Linked DNA regions of Homo sapiens: region 1 is linked to region 2. Evidence: promoter capture Hi-C in 16 types of primary human blood cells and fetal thymus (Javierre and others, 2016). All regions are on one chromosome and are shown on one strand. The core of a region is centred on a gene start or on the middle of the fragment in contact, and the rest is flanking DNA. Distances in the headings are between cores, read along the strand shown.

Evidence for each region. The method cuts DNA at HindIII sites, captures the fragments that hold promoters and counts their contacts. A CHiCAGO score of 5 or more calls a contact.
Region 1: a contact is called between a fragment that was not itself captured here and the fragment with the promoter of GARIN4 in region 2, in 3 of 17 cell types (M1 macrophages, M0 macrophages and M2 macrophages). The highest score is 6.6, in M1 macrophages.

Annotation. Positions count from the first base shown.
Region 1 is chr1:212,453,733-212,457,359 of GRCh38, reverse strand. No RefSeq gene overlaps it. Among named protein-coding and RNA genes, the nearest start is that of LINC02771, 17 kb to the left of the region's middle. RefSeq lists an enhancer at 3,580-3,627. The HindIII fragment of the contact is 6,682 bases long and covers 1-3,627 here.
Region 2 is chr1:212,622,360-212,625,862 of GRCh38, reverse strand. GARIN4 (golgi associated RAB2 interactor family member 4) reads right to left here and starts at 1,389. Exons shown (of 1, transcript NM_153606.4): 1 at 1-1,389. The coding sequence starts at 985. The HindIII fragment of the contact is 9,349 bases long and covers 1-2,032 here.

The DNA of each region.
Region 1 (3,627 bases), core at 220-2,719, 170 kb after region 2:
AGCTCATTCTGTCTTATTAGGTCCCTCTGCTCTCCTATTGTTTTCCACCACTGTGCATTGCTGTGTCGTTCAGAGCATGTGTCACAGTGTGCTTTTTTTTTTTCCAAAATGTGCTGTCTGTCTATCTCCTCCTCTAGATTGCCAACTCACAAGAGTGGGGCCATGCCAGCTTCTTCCACCCCTGCAGACTCAGGGCCTGGCACATCATAAGTCTCAAGTGTTTGTCAAATGAATCTATTAAAAAATAGAAAATGGCTCTAGAGGCATTGAGATAAATGGACAGGTGATGGATCTGTAGATTGGGGTGTATGCGACATAACGAACTCTGAGGAATGTTGTGGAAGGCAATTGCTCTCCTGTCCTACAAACCATCTCCAGATAAAGAGGACAGCAGGCAGGATGACTGCTCTGCCATCATGGTGTTTCTGCTGTGCTTGTGACTCTGTTCAGCCCTGTACATCCATGGAGATTAGGGCCTGAACCCAGGCTTCTCCCCTCATCCCAACTTCACCTCTGCTTCTTGGAAGGCATGGGGCTCATTGAGTGTTATAGCTGGTGGGACCCTATAGATTACAAAGGTGGCTCCACATCACCATCACCTGGGGAACATTTAAAAACATCAGTGTCTGGACACTACCACTAGTTTCCGATTCTTTGAGTTCCACAGTTCAGTGTAGCATAGTGGATGCCCAGAAACATGAACTCAAGTCCTAACTCTGCCACATACTGTATGATCTTGGCCAAGTTACTTGACTTCTCTCTGCCTCGATTTCTGGAGATGACAGCAGTATCAATCTCACAGGCTTGTTGTGAGGATCAAAGTCAACAATGTATGTGAAGCTCTTGGTGCAATGTCTGGCTCAGAGTAAATACTGAATAAAATGTAGCTATTATTGAAATTATTATCTCACAGCTACTTAGCGGCTGGCGTGGGATGAGCCTCCTGATCCTGGATCCAGTGTTCTTTCCAACACGTCACTCTGAATGTGCACACAGCCTGAGGTCAGACTCGGCAAGGCAAACATATAGTTGCTCTCCCTGGGACCCTTTAATTAAACCGTATGGAACAGAGAACTGCCCCTGAGAACCAACAGCAGATCTGACCCCTGGGAAGCAGAGAGCTGGAGAACACAGGAGTTCGGCAGTGCAGCTTTCAGGTCCTTTGGGAAGCCATTTGGCTGCTTCTGTTAGCATTTCATTATGGAAATACTGGGAACCAAAAATAGAAGTTCTTGAGGGAGCTTAATCCTCTGGGCTTTACAAAACAGCTGCTGGAGAGTTCCCGGAATTGACCACCAGGGGGCACTGTCGTCCCATGCAGGCAGCTGCTGGTGGGTCGGACCAGGACAGAAGTGTCCAAGAAAAAACCAACACCCTTCAGCAAGCTCCTACCCCAAGCCTGCCTTGCTGGGGACTCTGTGGCTGGGATCCCTGTGGATCTCCACAGCTCCTGGTCCTAGAGAAACCACTTTGCAACTCAGCCCACTGCTCTCCTCTTTGGGGACCCTTAAGAGCAGAGCAGGTTCCTGCATTTATTTTAATCGATCCTTCCTCCCACCTCACCCCAAAACCAGGACCTAGGGCAGTGCTGGACATATAATAAGCAAGAAATATGCATCTCCTTTGTTGATTAATGGATATGTGAAATCAGGTGCAATTGTTAAATTGTGGGACGTATCAAATAACAAAATTTCAATAAATTGAGCTGTAAAGGTCTAGTTTGCCTTTATTAGCAATTCATGAACTGGGCAGTATCCAGTCTACAAAATAAAAAGGAACTCCCATGAGCTGAGCTAAGGGCTGAGCTTATAGGCAGAAAAGGCTGAAGAAAGCCAAAACAAGAAATAAGATGCAGATTGGCCGTTTCAAAGTTACTTTCCTTATTGAGGATCTTGTTAGCCTAATGGGATATGACTATCAACTCTCTCCTGATTTCTCAGAAGCTCAGATCCAAGTAAACAGCTTCGTTTTTGGTTTCGTGGTGCGGAACCTTAGTGTGAGTGACTCCATTTTGGATGGGTCTGTTGGACCCTAATGCAGGAGGTCAGTCCAAATAATGGCCTCCCATACATTTTGTTTAACAGAAGGAAACTGCTTGATCTTTGAAGGAATGGCAGAGAGAGTGCAGTGGTGTGAATCAGACAGAGGTTATGAGTGACAGTTAAGGGGAGGGTCATGGATAAACGGGAAAGGGGAAGAAGTGAGAGGGCTCAGGCAGGAAGGCAACAGATGTATTTCAGGGATCCTGAGTAGTAAGAGATTCCTCAATGTGGAGGCCAAATCCAGAAATATGGGGGAGATTAGACAAGGGAGTCCCAGCCACAGCTCACATGGCCTCCAGGTGGGCATCACCGGCCACCACAGCCACTATGACCTCTCCTATCTTTGGGGTGGCTTGCAGCTGCCACCAGCAGGCTCTGAGCTCCCACAGGTGGGCCTGGGTCCCACGACCTCCCTCTGGGTGATGCCATGGGGCTTAGTACCCTGAGCCTGTATCACACATCCTTAGTCCGAGAGAGCCTCTCTCAAATGACAGCAGGTCTTGTTCACCACAGAATTCTGTGAAGACTAGAGCACAAGAAATACTTGTTAACTAAAGGATTAAACTATGTGTTAAAAAAAAAAAAAAAAAAAAAAAGCAAAACAAGGCCAGGTGTAGTGGCACATGCCTACAATCCCAGCACTTTGGCAGGCCGAGGCAGGAGGATTACTTGAGATCAGGAGTTCAAGACCACCCTGGCCAACATAGTGAAACTCTGTCTTTACTAAAAGTAAAAAAATTAGCCGGGTGTGGTGGCAGGTGCCTGTAATCCCAGCTACTTGGGAGGCTGAGGCAGGAGAATCACTTGAACCCAGGAGGCAGAGGTTGCAGTTTGCACCATTGCACTCCAGCCTGGGAGACAGAGAGACAGACAGACACACACATACACACACACACACACACAGAAGTAGAGTCTCTCTCCACAGGACCTCCAGGTACCTTCCCTGGCTATGATTTTAGAGTCTCTGCCACCAGCTCGGCATGCCACATCCTAATTCCAATGGCCCTGGGGTGGAGCTCCCTGGAAGGCTCGATCTTGAAGCACAACAGGGCAGAATGGAAAGTGGCCAGGCTGGAAGGAAGACTTGCCTTGGAATCTCAGCTCCAGCACCTCTCAGTTGTCAGAGGTGTAGTTTCCCTTGCAAGTTACTTATGCTTCCTAAGACCCAACCAAATGTTAGTACCACCTTGAAGAGAATAAATTAAGCCGCAAACATGGCATGCCAGCACCTGGCTCATGCTAGCCCAGTGCCGCTATTGCAATGACCATCAGCACCGACTTGGACAAGAGGCAGGGGCAGGGGCAGTGAGGCAGGAAGTAGGCTTCAGCTGGGAGAGGCAAGGACAGGGTAGAGGTAACTGCAGCCAAGGGGGCGGGGGGACAGCAGGGGAGCAAAAGCCTGGCTCACACACAGGGAAAAGACAGCAGCAGCCTGGCTGATCAGGCTACTCTGAAATAGCTGCACCCACCAGCCACCCACTGGAGACCTTAGGCTTCCGCTCCCTGACACCTCAGGGTCACACTCGCTCCAGGTTCTGCCTCCAGCCCCGCTTAGTGTCTCAGCTGCTGGATTTTCCCTCTCTCA
Region 2 (3,503 bases), core at 140-2,639:
GGGCCATGTTGCCTTTGTTTCCTCCTGCACCGATGGTGGCCGCCCCAGCTATGGCTGCGCTCACCTGTCCAGGGGCAGAATTGGCTGCTGCCACACTCAAGGCACCTGCTACGGTGCCTGTTGCTGCCCCTGCAGCTGCCCCTGCTGCTGCTGCCTCTTTAATCCCCCCTGTTGCTGGCTCCTCAGCAAGTTCTGTAGATGTTTTGGGGATGGATGCATTGAGCACATTAGTGGGTTTGTTAAAGTCATTTTGGAGTCCCTCCCCTCCAGCATAAGCAGCAGAGGTGGCCCCACACACCTCAGAGACCATGTGGAGGCTTTGGATGCTGACCTGGTCCTGATCCCCCTTTCCTTGAAGGTTCACGGCTCCCAGGCTCCTCCTGTCTTCCTGAAACACAGGCATCCACATCATGTCTTCAGCTGGAATGCCACAGGTACTGCTGTTACTCTCCATGGGTGGCCGCAAGAGGTAAATTAGTTTTTCCCAATAGGCAAAGAGGTCATCCCGTGTGTCAAGAGCGGGACACAATTGCAGATAGCAAGATCTGCCAGTGGCGAACTTCAGGCGCAGCTGTTGTTTCTCATGGTCTTGAACAGAGATCCGTACAAACCTCAGGGGCAGAAGCCTGGTGAGCTCTAAGTTCTTTGCTGCCTTGCGTTTTTTTCTCTTGGTGGCCTGGCCATGTCCAGCATACTCTTCGCAGCCGGTGGCCGGTCGTGCCAGTAGCATGACATCTGGGAGTGGGAGGATGGGGCTGGTACGTGCAATGCCCATGGTCACCATACGGACACGGTTGTGCACATCAATCACTTCTCCCCTTTTGGTGATCTGGATAAAGTCGCTCTCAAATATCGGTGCATACTTGAATATATCGTACTCCCCCTTGTACAGTTGTCGCTGCAGTTTCCCCATGGTGGTGTTGAACATGCTCATGCTGGAGCCACTCTGGGCCGTATAATACGGCAGCAGAAAATCAGCATTCATGGTTGTCTTTCAGCACAACGGCAGCACTGGTGAGGCAGGTCTCTGGGTCTTCCTTGGCCTCGGTGGCAGATGAGGGACCAGTGGTGCTCCTGGGTCACAAAGATGTCTCTGCAGCTGGTCTCTCAATCCCACCCCACCCCACAGGCCCCCACTGTTGCCTCAGAGCCTCCCAGAGGCCGGGGTGGGGGTGGGAGCACGGATGATTGCTGTGGGGGGTGCTGTAGGGTGCCTGGACTCCAGACTCTTCCAAGACGTAGAGATGCAGGGTGGGCTCCAGAGAGGTTTTCTTCTGGACCTAACCCCCTGACCTCCACCTCTGATTTTTTTAATTACAGTTTGTAGTCTCTCTCCCTGAGAGAGACTACAAACTGTAGTCCTAGTGACAGGAAGTGACGACCCTCTCTGCCTAAACCCCCTGTGCAGCCATATTTATCTTCTGCTTCCCTTTGTGACCTGTTGCTGTCACATACCCCTTTGTTCTCATCCCCCAGGCCAGGGCCACAATGCCCTCACTAATACTCCATTGCCCCCATAGAGGACAGCCCCACCGTGCCAGGTACTCAAGTGGGTGCCAAAATAAAAATTTTTCAAATGAGAAAATGTGTGGTTGCTTCCCCTTCCTCACCCCAAATTCAAAAGATTCAGCAACTAGGCAGAGTCTACAGGAACGCAAGATGATGGGATAAATTTGAACCATTTGAGTACACGGTTTAAATTTTTTTTTAACCTAGAATTCGCAGTCTTGGTTCTTAGCCCACTCTTCCATAAAATCTCAGTTCATGCTGACAATGGAAATCTTTAGTAATAACCTCAACCTTTAATAATAACATGAGAGATTGCTTCTTCTAGGCGCCATACTATGTATCAAACTCCATTCCAGTTTGATACTATTGCAACGCTTCTCATCTTACAGGTAAAAAAAACCTGAAGTTGTGAAACATACCTGCATTTGTAGAACTCGTAGGCAGTGGAGGTATTATTTGAATACAGGTCTTGCTGCTTTTAAAATCTTCCTTCTGAACCACTACAGAACTTACAAAAAAAGCTTGGGCAAGCCAAATAAGTTGCATAATTAATTCTGTGTGTGTGTGTGTGTGTGTGTGTGTGTATGCATGCATGTTATGGAGAATCCAGGACAACCACTTCAGAAAGGGGCTGGGCTGAGTGGGGGATTAAATTATCCAAGGGGCCACCTCTATTTCTCCTCCATCATGTTTATACCAACATCCTGTGTCAGGGAGCCCAAATATTTTCTCAAGGCCCCCAGTGTTTGCCCCGTGCCTCTTCTTACCCCCTACCCTGTGAAATGCCGGGAGAAGAGGGTAGGATGGAAAGTGTGAGCTTACATTCCAGGAGCCTATCAAAGGCCCTCCTCTACTAACCTCTCTACTATGCAGAAGTACTTTGGAAGCCATTTACATCCATGGGGAACAGGTGCTACTATACCTCCTGCCTTGCCATGCCCACAGAGCGAGCCCAGGAATAAGTAATTTCCAAGCTGTTACCTGGAAGTCCTGAAAAGGAGCACCTGCTTCCAACTCTCTTTTCTCCCAGCTTGACATCAGGCCTGAAATCCTACCTTAGAGATTCAGTTCTTGAAGATAAAGGCTAGCTGTTTCTTAACATACACACACCTGTCTATCAACTGATGAATGGATAAACAAAAAGTATAGTATCCATACAACAGAATACTATTCAGCCATAAAGAGAAATAAGGTACTATTACATAATACGCTAGGCTGACACTTGAAAACATTATGCTAAGTGAAAGAAGCCAGCCGTATTGTGCGAAAGGCCACATATTGTATGATGCTATTTACATAAAATATCCAGCGCAGGCAAGTCCATAGAAACAGAAGACAGATTAGTGGTTGCCAGAGACTGGAAGGAAGGGGAATGAAGAGTGACTCCTTAATGGGTACAGGATTTCCTTTGGGGACAGTGAAAAAGTTCTGGAACTAGATAGTAATGGTTACACTGCATTGTGAATGTACTTAATGGCACTGAATTGTACACTTCAAAATAGTTACAATGGCAAATTTTTTGTATATCTTACCACGCACACACACACAAATGTATATACTCTTGTTTGAAATCATTGCTGTTGAAAACAAGCATAGGCTTCAGCTTTGGAAAGATCCACTGTGAGACCTCGAGCAAGTTACTGAGCTCTCCACTCCCTCATCTGTAAAATGGGGGTAGCAGTTGTTGTGAGGATTAAATGGGATAATACATGTGAAGTGTTTAGTGTATTGTCCTACGCAATAAATGTTAGCTTCTGTTAGCATTAGTCCTCAACAGTCCTTTTAACCTCAGTGTAAATTCCTCCCTGAAAGCAGTGTTTGATGAGACTGTGTTAAAATCTTCTGGAGTTAGAGCCACCATGAGAACACAGGATGCTCAGTGGGCAAATGGGACCTCCTTTCAGGCAGATTCTAATTGGAAACGCTGTTCACGCCACAAAGAAACAGTACATGAACCCAACCAGAGGTTACGGGACAGGGAAGAGAGGAGAAAG